Linked DNA regions of Homo sapiens: region 2 is linked to region 1. The links are contacts of gene promoters, found by promoter capture Hi-C in blood cells and fetal thymus (Javierre and others, 2016). All regions are on one chromosome and are shown on one strand. Each heading gives the region's core, a stretch centred on a gene start or on the middle of the fragment in contact. The rest is flanking DNA. Distances are from core to core; before and after follow the strand shown. Region 1 holds the start of EPG5 (ectopic P-granules 5 autophagy tethering factor). Region 2 overlaps PSTPIP2 (proline-serine-threonine phosphatase interacting protein 2).

Region 1 (6,346 bases), core at 1,121-3,620:
AAATAAATAAAATTCCTGAAATTTGGTACCAAAATGACTTTCTCACCAGAATAACTCCTCACAGACCTGGATACACCAATGTGTCTAACTCCACTACAGCCGTTTAAAAAGTCATATCAAGAAAACGTGGTAAATACTCAGCATGGAATACTATGCAGCCATAAAAAAGAACAAAATCGTGTCCCCTGCAGCAACATGGATGCAGTTAGAGGTAATTATCCTAAGCAAATTAATGCAGAAACAGAAAATCAAATACCACGTTCTCACTTATAAGTGGGAGCTAAACATTAAGTACACATGGACACAAAGAAGGGAATAATAGACACCAGGGCCTACTTGAGGGCAGAAGGTGGGAAGAAGGGAAGGATAAAAAAACCACCTGTCAAGCACTATACTCATTACCTGGGTGACAAAATAATCTGCACACTAAACCACCAAGGTGTGCATTTGCCCATGTAGTAAACCTCCACTTGTACCCTCTAAACCTAAAATAAAAGTTGGAAAGAAAAAAAAAGAGCATCATAATGAAAGAAATCCACATAAGTCATCTACAGTCTACTAAGTATGGTACCTATGAACACTACCCTCCTGTTAAAACCTTGTTCCCATGAGAAAATCGGATTACAGTATCATGCTTAAATTACACCTGCTTTGGAACATCACCCACTTCTGGGGAAAAAAATGTCCTGTACTTGTAATACCATCCTCCTTATTTCCCAAATGTAAACTCTGTTTCAGGTAAGCCAAAATTATGAGGTCTGGCCATGCGGGAGCAGCATTTAATCTGTTCATCTTAGAAAATATATATAAATAGGGTGGGCGCGGTGGCTCACGCCTGTAATCCGGGCACTTTGGGAGGCCAAGATGGGCGGATCACCTGAGGTCAGGAGTTTGAGGCCAGCCTGACCAACAAGGAGAAACCCCGTCTCTACTAAAAATACAAAATTAGCCGTGTGTGGTGGCGCATGCCTGTAATCCCAGTTACTCGGGAGGCTGAGGCAGGAGAGTCGCTTGAACCCGGGAGGCGGAGGTTGCGGTGAGCCGAGATTGCACTCCGCCGAGATTGCACTCCAGCCTGGACGACAGAGCGAGACTCCATATCAAAACAAAAACAAAAACAAAACAAAACATAGGCTGGGCGCGGTGGCTCACGCCTGTAATCTCAGCACTTTGGGAGGCCGAGGCGGGCGGATCACGAGGTCAGGAGATCGAGACCATCCTGGCTAACACGGTGAAACCCCGTCTCTACTAAAAATACAAAAAATTAGCCGGGCGTGGTGGCAGGCGCCTGTAGTCCCAGCTACTCGGGAGGGAGGCTGAGGCAGGAGAATGGCGTGAACCTGGGAGGCGGAGCTTGCAGTGAGCCGAGATCGCGCCACTGCACTCCGGCCTGGGCGACAGAGCAAGACTCTGTCTCAAAAAAAAAAAAAAAAATACATATACATATATATACACACACACATATGTATATATGTACGTATATATGTATATATGTGTACATATGTATATATGTGTATATATGTACTATAATAAAATGAAAATCCAGACTGCACTTATAAACAAATCAACTTAAAATCACTCTAATACCACATGTAGTCTAATACAGGAAACTCAGAAAATTCAAACACTTCCCTACTGTGTGAGTCCCGCCCTGGGTTAATTTCTAGCCATTCATGCCCCTTATAAACAATCAAGACAATAAGAAATAAACAGAGGCAGCACTACTATCATCTTGAACTTTCAAAGTGATCAGAAATGGCACAGCACTAGTCTACTTATAAAGTTCTGCCAAAGGTACCTTCTCCGCGTGGAGGAGGGGAACATTCCCTCTTTATGCATGGCAGGGACTAAAAATGTTCTAGGATATAAAAGAGTAAAGAGAGAGTCAACGATGGGGCTGGAAAGAGAAAAATTATTTCACGGCAGGAAACCAGACCCAGGTGAGGAAAGCCAAGAGAGCAGAAAAGGAAGAGGCCAGTGAAGTCACAGGAGGGAGAAGGAAAAATGGGGTCCTGACAGAGTGTGGCAGGGGGATATGGAGAAGGAATGGAGGAGAAGGGCCGGTGTCAACGGGTGGTGGGATCAAATATTGGAAGGTGGAGGCGGAAGATGCAGAGGGCTCAGGGAACGGGAGTAGAATTGGCTGGGGAGGCCGAAGAGAGGAGCAAGGAGACACAGCACACTGCCAGAGCCTCGGGAGGGTGGGGGAGATCCTCACCTTTGTTTTAGTCCGGCTGGCCTTGGCCTTGGCCCGGCGCTGGGGCTTCACCGCCTCGGCCATAGACCCTTCCGCGGCGCCGTCACCGTTTGTTTTTGTCAAACCCCTGCGCTTCAAGCAACCTGCCCGGTTCTGGCCTCCGGACTGTCACATGATCGAATCTCCGCCACTCCCGGAGAAGAGGCGGTGAGTCGGCGCCTCTACGGGCCGCAACGTAGGACAAACCACTCCAGGACGCATTTGCACTGGAGGAAGGCAGGCCCGCCCCCTTCCCGGAGCCCAGGCCCCACCCCTAGCCCTGGCTCCACCCGGCGCGCAGGTGTCTTGGGTTGCGCTGGACAAGGGCAGCGACCCAGGCTGACCCACCTCCTCCGTCTCCCGGCTCTGCGGAACCTCACTCAGTGCGGATCCCGGGCGCGCTCGCACACCTCACCCGCGTCGGCTTGAAGAAATCCGGAAAGTGGGTTTGCCATTCTTTTTTTTCATCTTCAGATAAACCAGATCCAGTCGGTTAGCCTAAATCCGCACTGCGCGCAAGGAAGAAACCCTGACGCCCATCGGGGTGTGCACTTCGGCGTCCTCTTTTGTAAAGGGGAATGATCACACCTGCCTTTTCGGATGTCATGAGAATTTAATGGGCTCTCCCAGAAAGGTGCCTGGTAGCGGCAGGCATGTCGGTACATGGTAGTTATTAATTATCATTACTGTACAAATTCCCAGACTGGAAAAAAGACATGTGCTCCTAAAAGGACAGGCAAACAGGTAACAAGATAAATAAGATCCGTAAAAGTATTCTTAGTATACATTTTACAGTGTGCTTCATTTGAAATTTCCAGATGTGAAAAACTTGTCCACATCTTCCCTTCCCAGCTCTAGGATTTCTGTGATTTGCTTGTATCCTTATTGTTAGTGTCTGTCAATCCTCCCAGAATGTAAGATCCTCAAAGGCAGGGTTCTTAATTTTGTTGCCTGATGTATCCAAGGGTCTTTAGAACACTGCACGTAGTAGCACATAGTAGATACTAAATAAATATTTCGTGAATCACACAAATGAGTATGAGTTTTGTCTGGCGGTGGGGTAAGATCGTTGAAATGGAGTGGGCCAGGCGCAGTGGCTCACGCCTGTAATCCCAGCACTCTGGGAGGCCGAGGCGGGTGGATCACCTGAGGTCAGGAGTTCAAGACCAGCCTGGGCAACATGGTGAAACCCCAACTCTACTAAAAATACAAAAAAGTCGCCGGGCATGGTGGTGGACGCCTGTAATTCCAGCTACTCGGGAGGCTGAGGCAGGAGAATTGAACCTGGGAGGCGGAGGTTGCAGTGAGCCGAGATCGCACCATTGCCCTCCAGCCTGGGCAACAAGAGCGAAACTCCCATCTCAAAAAAAAGAAAAGAAAAGAAAAAGAAGAAAAGGAAATGGAGTGTATGGGAGGGAGGAAAAAGACCATCCACCCACCTGTAGCATACCCTAGAATAAAAAATCCAGCAATATGGCATGAAAAATGGAAAAGACTTCAGAGATGCAGTTTGCTTGTTTGTGATGATATTTTAATTGAGTATATAATACAATTTCGTGTATTTTGTTCCCAAATCCTCAACAACAAAAATTATTAAGCTACTCAGAATATACATGTACTTTGTATGTCCTGGTGTGTGTGTGTGTGTGTGTGTGTGTGTGTGTGTGTGCATGTATATAAAGTTATCACCTGCAAAGAGTTGGCCAATATAAACAAAATCTTTATACCACCATTACTATCCATAACTTTTGCTGATATTTCTCCCAGTCTGGAATACCCTTGCTCTCTGACCTCTCCCAGTTTAAGTCATTTATGACATTTAAAGTTCTCTATGTGCTACCCACTACTTGGTCAGCAAAACACAACTGACCCTACTCTCAATTTGCATGTTTTACAGTTTAGTTGGGAAGCAGACACAATGCATAGATACATTGTGATACGTGTATCATCGCCTAACTGGTAAAAGAGGCATACATTGGAAAGACTGAATGAAGGGATGACACCAGGGCAGGGGTGAGTTCCACACAAAAAAGAGGTTAATCAGGGAGGATGGGAGAAAGAGGAGAAGGAGGAAAGAAATGAAGGTTCTTTAAAAAGCACCTCAGCCTGGCACAGTGGTTCACACCTATAATCCTAGCATTTTGGGAGACCGAGGCAGGCGGATTGCCTGAGTTCAGGAGTTCGAGACCAGCCTGGGCAACACAGTAAAACCCCATCTCTACTAAAATACAAAAAATTAGCCAGGCCTGGCAGCGTGCGCCTGTAGTCCCAGCTACTTGTCCCAGCTACTTGGGAGGCCAAGGCAGGAGAATTGCTTGAACCCAGGAGGTGGAGGCTGCAGTGAGCCAAGATCGTGCCACTGCACTCCAGCCTGGGTGACAGAGCAAGGCTCCGTCTCCAAAAAAAAAAAAAAAGCAACTCAAAACCACAGCCTCCTAGGACTGCATAAGGTACTTCTGCTGCATTTATGTGGCTTACTGCACTTCTCAAGATGGTGAATGTGAGTATGATGTATGATGACTGGAGAGGCCAGAGAGAGCCAGATTGCTCTGTATAAGCAGAGATTTAGAGAATTTAGAGAGGAAGGAAGAACAATATATAAGGGGAGGTGGAAACGAAGTCACCTGGCAGAGGGCTAACTACTAAGGAGACCTACATTTTCCATCACGAAGTTATCTGTCGTTGGATTAATTTCAGAAAGTGAGGCCAACAGCCAGACAATTCAAGTTCAGTAGAATCCAAACAAAAGGTAAAGCAACAATCAGTTAGGTAATGATATAATTTGAACCGAGAAGGTGGTTTTGAAACTACTCCTTTTGAAGGATATAGACTTGAAGTCTCTGTTGCCACAGCAACAATTTTAAAAGGGACAATGGGAGCAGGGGCTCAGAAAAGTTCCCGAACATATGCAGTCAAGGATTTCATGTCCCAGCCAGACAACTGACTGATAAGCAACCTGAGTTCCCAGGGCTGCTAAACCCAACCTGTGAGACAGTAGCTTGAAAAAGTAAACAGGCCGGCAGTGGTGGTTCACACCTGTTATCCCAGCACTTTGGGAGGCAGAGCAGCGCAGATCACTTGAGGTCAGGAGACCAGCCTGGCCAACATGGTGAAACCCCATCTCTACTTAAAAAAATACCAAAATTAGCGTAGCGTCATGGCATACACCTGGAATTCCAGCTACTTGGGAGGCTGAGGCAGGAGAATCGCTTGAACCCAGGAGGCGGAGGTTGCAGTGAACCAAGATGGCGCCACTGCACTCCAGCCTGGGCAACAGAGCGAGACTCCATCTCAAAAAAAAAAAAAAAGTAAACCAATTCCTGGAAGTAAAGTATCATCTCAGGAAAGTCAAATACAAAGCAGATAAAGTAATTTAAGCTGACAGCATAATCCTTTTGTGTTAAATTAGGAATAAACTGTATCTTTTTGTATTTAAAGTGCTTGTACTGGTTACGATAATTTGGCAAATTAAAGGATATAGACCTTATGATTCCAAATTAAAATATGTATTTTACTACCTGATTTTAGATTACATATATTTTAGTTAAAAATAAGATAATTTTATACGGCTTACATAATCATGGAATATCTCTGAGAAATTAAGATCTATCATATTTATAAACTGAATTTGTGGCTGGGTGCAGTGGCTCATGCCTGTAATCCCAACACTTTGGGAAGCCAAGGCGGGCAGATCACGAGGTCAAGAGATCGAGACCATCCTGGCCAACATGGTGAAACCCCGTCTCTACTAAAAATACAAAAATTGGCTGGGTGCACACCTGTAGTCACAGCTACCCGGGAGGCTGAGGCGGGAGAATCGCTTGAATCTAGGAGGCGGAGGCTGCAGTGAGCCGAGATCATGCCACTGCACTCCAGCCTGGCAACAGAGTGAGACTCCGTCTCAAAAAAAAAAAAAAAAAAAAAAATTTGTTAGACCTTAGTAGGATGGTTTAAGTAGTTAGAATGGTTGGTTGGTCAGTTCAGGCAACATTAAAAAAATTAATATTTTGAATTTAATACTGTAGTATAAAACATTTGAAGGAATTTAAGTGATGATGGGACCAATTGTTTAAGGGACTTTGGTCTGTTGAATGTGAGTGGATGAATTGT
Region 2 (6,346 bases), core at 2,614-5,113, 92 kb after region 1:
AAAATCACTTTTAAAAGAGGATTAGGAAAATAAAGGTAGAGAAAGCAGGCAAACAAGCTTCTACTCCACGGGAAAACCGAGTATTTTTAGACTGTATCTTTCTTGTTTAGTAAGTACCTAACTGAACTGCAGGTGCATTTTCTCACTAGGACAGCTTCTATAGGAGCCCCAAGCACAAACTTGCCCTCTCCCTTCTCTCTCTACAGCAGAGATGGGCTCCCCACAGCTCCACAGCCCTGCAGGGGCTGGGATGATGGGGAATCTGTGCTGGCTTCGCTTCTTATGTCCAGGTGGTCCCTCGGCAATGTAGATCCCTTAGCTGGTCTGGGAGTCTGTAGGAATTCCCTTTGCAAAATGGATCATCACTTATGTTCTCCAACTCCCCTCTCCAGGCTTTCCCTGCCCACCCCAAATCCATGCTTCCCTCTGTTGTGCCCTGTGCTTCCTTAAAGTACTCATTGGTCCAAAACGTCACCCTCCTCCAGGGCCCCTACTAGGATGAGGCATGGTCGTGCATGTGCAGGGTTCAATTCTGTCTTTCTTTACAATTTTGAGGGGCCAGGCGTGGTTGCTCATGCCTGTAATCCTAGTGCTTTGGGAGGCCAAGGTGGGAGGATCGCTTGGGCCAGGAGTTTGAGACCAGGAGTTTGAGACTAGTCTGGGCCACACAGCAAGACTCTGTCTCTACAAGAAATTTTTAAAATAGCAGAGCATGGTGGTGCACACCTGTGGTCCCAGCTACTCCGGGGGCTGAGGCAGGAGGCTCACTTGAGCCAAAGAGTTCAAAGCTGCAGTGAGGTATGGTTGCACCACTGCACTCCAGCCTGGGCAGAAGAGTGAGACCCTGTCTCTAAAGAAATAAAGTTTTGATATTTTGTTCCTGGAAGGGTTTTTCTCATTAACTTTGTTTTTTTAAAATATTACATTAAAGAATAATTTATCTTGGCCAGATGCGGTGGCTCACACCTGTAATTCCAGCACTTTGGGAGGCCAAGGTGGGCAGATCACTTGAGGTCAGGAGTTCAAGACCAGCCTGGCCAACATGGTGAAACTCCATCTCTACTAAAAATACAAAAAAATTAGCTGGGTGCAGTGGTGGGTACCTGTAATCCCAGCTACTTGGGAGGCTGAGGCAGGAGAACTGCTTGAACCGGGGAGGCGGAGGTTGCAGTGAGCCGAGATCAGGGCATTGCACTCCAGCCTGGGCGACAGAACAAGACTCCATCTCAAAGGAAAAAAACTACTGAGGGTTTTTTTGGCTCCCCCTTAAATTTTACGTGCAAGGCAAGTGCCTCAGCCTAGCCCTGGCTCTGCCTGCGTCCCACTCAGCAGAGACCCCTCCCTCCCTCCACAGGGGCCTCCCTCAGAGAAAAGATTGCTTGGTCACATGAAGGTGCACATGACTTAACCACCACCTTTCTTGGGAGACATTTAAAACTATTTTTTCTTTTCTTTTTCTTTTTTTTTTTGAGGCAGAGTTTCACTGTCGTCACCCAGGCTGGAGTACAATGGCGCAGTCTCAGCTCACTGCAACCTCCACCTCCCAGGTTCAAGCGATTCTTCTGCCTCAGCCTCCAGAGTAGCTAGGATTACAGGCGAGCGCCACCACGCCTGTCTAATTGTTTTGTATTTTTAGTAGAGATGGGATTTCACCACGTTGGCCAGGCTGGTCTCAAACTCCTGACCTCAGGTGATCCACCCACCTCCATCTCCCAAAGCACTGGGATTACAGGCGTGCCCCACTGTGCCTGCCCAAAACTATTTTTTCTTAATTTACAGAATATCTCATTGTTCTATGATGAACACATTAGCAAAAAAGAAAAATCAAAAACCACCCATAGGCCAGGCGTGGTGGCTCACACCTGTAATCCCAGCACTTTGGGAGGCCGAGGCAGGCGGATCGTGAGGTCAGGAGATCAAGACCATCCTGGCTAACACGGTGAAACCCCGTCTCTACTAAAAAATACAAAAAATTAGCCGGGCGTGGTGGCGGGCGCCTGTAGTCCCAGCTACTCGGGAGGCTGAGGCAGGAGAATGGCGTGAACCCGGGAGGCGGAGCTTGCAGTGAGCGGAGATCGCACCACTGCACTCCAGCCTGGGTGACAGAGTGAGACTCCGTCTCAAAAAAAAAAAAAAAAAAAAATCACCCATAATCTTAAAAACCAGGTAAAATTTCTACTTTTATGTTTTTTAAAAAATACAAAACTCTGGGTCAGAGGAAGAGATGGCTTGCTAACCTGCCATTCCTTAGCATGATAATAAGTACACTTCTTCAACATCTCATGTAGACAATTACACTTGCCTACCTGTATAGGATGGGAGACTCCTGGAAAAGACTCTGAAAAGATCCTCTATGAGTAATTTACCCCTGGAGGTTGGGATTTGAAGGCTAAGGGAGGGATTTTTATGGTTTTTTACTCCATATACATCTGTATTGTTTTGATATTTTACAATAAGCATGTGTTATATTCCTAGTTTTTTTTTGTTTTTTGTTTTTTTGAGACAGAGTATCACTCTGTCGCCCAGGCTGGAGTGTAGTAGCACGATCTCGGCTCAGCGCCACCTCCTCCTCCCGGGTTCAAGCAACTCTCCTGCCTCAGGCTCCTGAGTAGCTGGGACTACAGGGGTGCGCCACCACACCCAGCTATTTATTTTTTGTATTTGTAGTAGAGACGGGGTTTCACCGTGTTGGCCAGGCTGGTCTCAAACTCCTGACCTCGTGATCCACCCACCTTGGCCTCCCAAAATGCTGGGATTACATGCATGAGCCACTGCACCTGGCCCTACATTCCTAGTTTTTTAAGGTACCAATAAAAATGAAAAATAAATAGCTCATGGAATCCATAGGCGGTTCTCTCTGCTTAAAGGCAGGGGTGCTGAGGAGAGGTCTCGCTGCAAGATAATTGTCATTAGGCAGGTCCTGTCACCAGCGGGGTGGGACCCTCTGTGTCCTCAAGGGAATGGTTGTGGCCTTGCCACAGGCAGGTGGCCAGGACCTAGGACCCTGGACACTGCCTGGGAGGCTGGTCCACTTCCATCTGGGTTTGGGTACAAGTTGCAGGTTTGGTATTTTTTGTATTCTATGGTCTGAACAAGTATACTTGCTCTTCTTTTAATACTTTAGGGGGAAATCCTCTTAATTCTTTTTTTTTCTTTTTTTCTTTTTCTTTTTTTTTTGTGAGATAGGGTCTCCCTCTGTCGCCCAGGCTGGAGTGCAATGGTGCGATCTTGGCTCGCTGCAACCTCCGCCTCCCAGGTTCAAGTGATTCTTCTGCCTCAGCCTCCTGAGTAGCAGGGATTACAGGCACGCACGACCATGCCCAGCTAATTTTCATATTTTTAATGGAGACAGTGTTTCAACGTGATGGCCAGGCAGGTCTTTTTTTTAATTTAAGACAGAGTCTCACTCTGTCACCCAGGCTGGATGGAGTGGCACGATCTCAGCTCACTGCAACCTCTGCCTTCCAGGGTCAAGTGATTCTCCTGCCTCAGCCTACCAAGTAGCTAGGATTACAGGTGCCTGCTACCACGCCCAGCTAACTTTTGTATTTTTAGTAAACACATGGTTTCACCTTGTTGGCCAGGCTGGTCTGGAACTCCTGACCTCAAGTGATCTGCCTGCCTCAGCTTCCCAAAGTGCTGGGATTACAGGCGTGAGCCACCGCGCCTGGTCTTATTTCTTTATTTTAAAAGTTATACTTATTTTATTGTTGAAAATTTTTAAGTATAGATTAAAAAAAAGAAAATAATATTTTTCAAAGTGTCTAAAATTCCAGAGAAAACAATAGTTGATATTTGCTATGTAATCCTCATATATTTTCCTAGTGACATATGACTGTCTTCATTTTTTGTTTAATAAAAATGAGGTCTAGGCTGGGCGTGGTGGCTCACACCTGCAATACCAGCACTTTGGGAGGCCAAGGCGGGTGGATCACCTGAGGTCAGGAGTTTGAGACAGCCTGACCAACATGGTGAAACCCCGTCTCTAATAAAAATACAAAAAAAATTACCCGGGCGTGGTGGCACATGCCTGTAATCCCAGCCACTAGGGAGGCTGAGACAGAAGAATTGCTTGAACCGGGGAGGCAGAGGTTGCAGTGAGCTGAGATTGCACCATTGTACTCCAGACTGGGCAACAAGAGTGAAACTCCGTCTCAAAAATAAATAAATAAAATTAAAATGAGGTCTTGTTTTCCAAATTGTTTAATAACTTTCTTTTAAACTTAATATTACAAGTGTCTTTCCTGGTGTTTGTTTTAAATCGTCATTTAAATATCTTTATAATATTATTATATTTCAAATATCTTTCCTGGTGCTTGTTTTAAATCATAATTTTTAGTGATTAGGGACTCTATTTCACTATGGTATTTCACTGCAATTCCTTAAATTTTTGAAAGTGATTTCCACTCATCATTTTCATTCATTATCTAAATTTTTAAAAATTAATTTAACTGCAAAGAAACTAGTCTGTGGATATACTAACACATTACCCACAATTCCACCTCCTTAACACAACTATGACGTACTTTATCATTTGAAACACATTGTAGTCCTAAAATTGGGCTTGCCAGATATCATTATCCTCACTGCACAACAGGAAGCTCAAGTCCAGAGTGGTTAGCTGGGTGGCACTGGACAAGTCACTCATTTAGTCTGAGTACAATAGCGTGTAGACCCCAAATGACTCCTAATAAAGGTAGGAGAGCTGTGGCTGCCATTGGCTGGTGGCCTTGCCCTCTCCATTTTCTGTTCTCTCAGAATCAATCACAATTCCCTCTAAATGGCTGCAGTCTTTGTACACTCAAACTTTACATGGCAGGGGAGGGTGCTGGTCTTTCCAGGCTTCCAGCTTCCCCATGTGAGGCTCCGCCCAGAGGACTGGTTTCTTTGCCCTCTGAGAGCAGACAGGCTTCTACAATAACTTGCTGAGCCCTTTGGCCTTGGGCTTTTCTGCTTAGTTTCTGCAGGGAAGGGCCATGTGCTCACAGGCAGGTGCCTTGTACTCTATAGTACTCTATCCTTGACATCAATATTACATTACTAATTGACAATGACACGTATAAAACAGCAGAGATGAAATGGTCAGTGGTTGGCAGATAAGAGGGAATGCACCAATAGATGCACATTAATAAAAAATCATACAGGAGGCTGGGTGTGGTAGCTCACACCTATAATCCCGGCACTTCGGGAGGCCGAGATGGGCAGATCACTTGAGGTCAGGAGTTCAAGAGCAACCTGGCCAACATGGTGAAATCCCATCCCTACTAAAAATACAACAATTAGCTAGGCATGGTGGTGCGTGCCTGTAATCCCAGCTACTCAGGAGGCTGAGGCAGGAGAATCGTTTGAACCTGGGAGGCGGAGGTTGCACTGAGCCAAGATTGCACCACTGCACTCCAGCCTGGTCAACGGAGCGAGACTCCATTTCACCAAAAAAAAAAAAAAAAATCATATATGAAGTTCATGACCAAAATGAGGCTGCTTCGCACTGAGAAACAATAGCTCTAAGTCAAAGGAAGCAGATGAGATGGAGATTCGGAGGACCTGGCAGGAGCATCAAGGTCCCTTATCCACAAACTTCCTGCCCATGCTGCCCAGGGAAAAGCAATACCAGTCTGTATCAGCCAGGGAGAGGCCTGCCAGCCAAGATAGTGGCTCTGGGCTGTGGTTGGTCACAGTAAAGGTCAACCACTCTTATGGGCAGGAACTAGACAAGAACGCTGATTAAATAGTTAGGCCCTAACATAGGACAGGTAGATGAGGAAACCTGAGCTTGGGACAGACAGCCCACAGGACAAATCAACAGTGCCCAGATCTGGCCATCTGCGGAAGTGCTGACAAAGGCCTGAGTCAATACTTTTTATTCCTGAGAGCTTAGGTCTTTTTGAACCCCTAGTTCAGTCCTTGTAGGGCAGGATCTGGATCTCCTGGGACAGAGAAAACAATATCTGTATTTGATAATAAGGGCTCAGAGCAGATTACAAGAGGTGGGGCCACCAAGGTTTGAAGCAGTGAAGGGACTTAGATGCCCATATTTCTAGGGTTTTCGAATATTTGTGGCCACTTATGAAACTATCACTTCCAACAGCTATTCTTTCAATAGTAACATTCAAATAGAAGCAGAGACCAAGCACTATAGGGCAAGTGTAAAGAGGACACACCATGGAGACTGCTTTCTCTGGCAGTTCAGCTTGCATGCCTCACTCAGCAAAACTAAGCTCAGAAGTTAGTTAGGCTCCTGCCCTTTAGAAGGCATGTGCTTCAGATAGGGATGGGGTCTCAGTCTCCCTACCCTGAACAGCTTATTCAAGTCTTCCTTCCAGCCTTCCAGCCTTGTGCCACACCA

What was found. Contacts are between HindIII fragments. The CHiCAGO score rates a contact against its expected background, and 5 or more counts as called.
Region 2: a contact is called between a fragment that was not itself captured here and the fragment with the promoter of EPG5 in region 1, in 1 of 17 cell types (neutrophils). The highest score is 6.0, in neutrophils.

What each region holds. Positions count from the first base shown.
Region 1 is chr18:45,964,959-45,971,304 of GRCh38, forward strand. It overlaps EPG5 (ectopic P-granules 5 autophagy tethering factor), which reads right to left and starts at 2,371. Exons shown (of 44, transcript NM_020964.3): 1 at 2,219-2,371. The coding sequence starts at 2,281. RefSeq lists an enhancer at 2,130-2,631. The HindIII fragment of the contact is 12,390 bases long and covers 1-6,346 here.
Region 2 is chr18:46,055,876-46,062,221 of GRCh38, forward strand. All of the region lies in intron 1 of PSTPIP2 (proline-serine-threonine phosphatase interacting protein 2), which reads right to left. Among named protein-coding and RNA genes, the nearest start is that of PSTPIP2, 13 kb to the right of the region's middle. The HindIII fragment of the contact is 7,617 bases long and covers 56-6,346 here.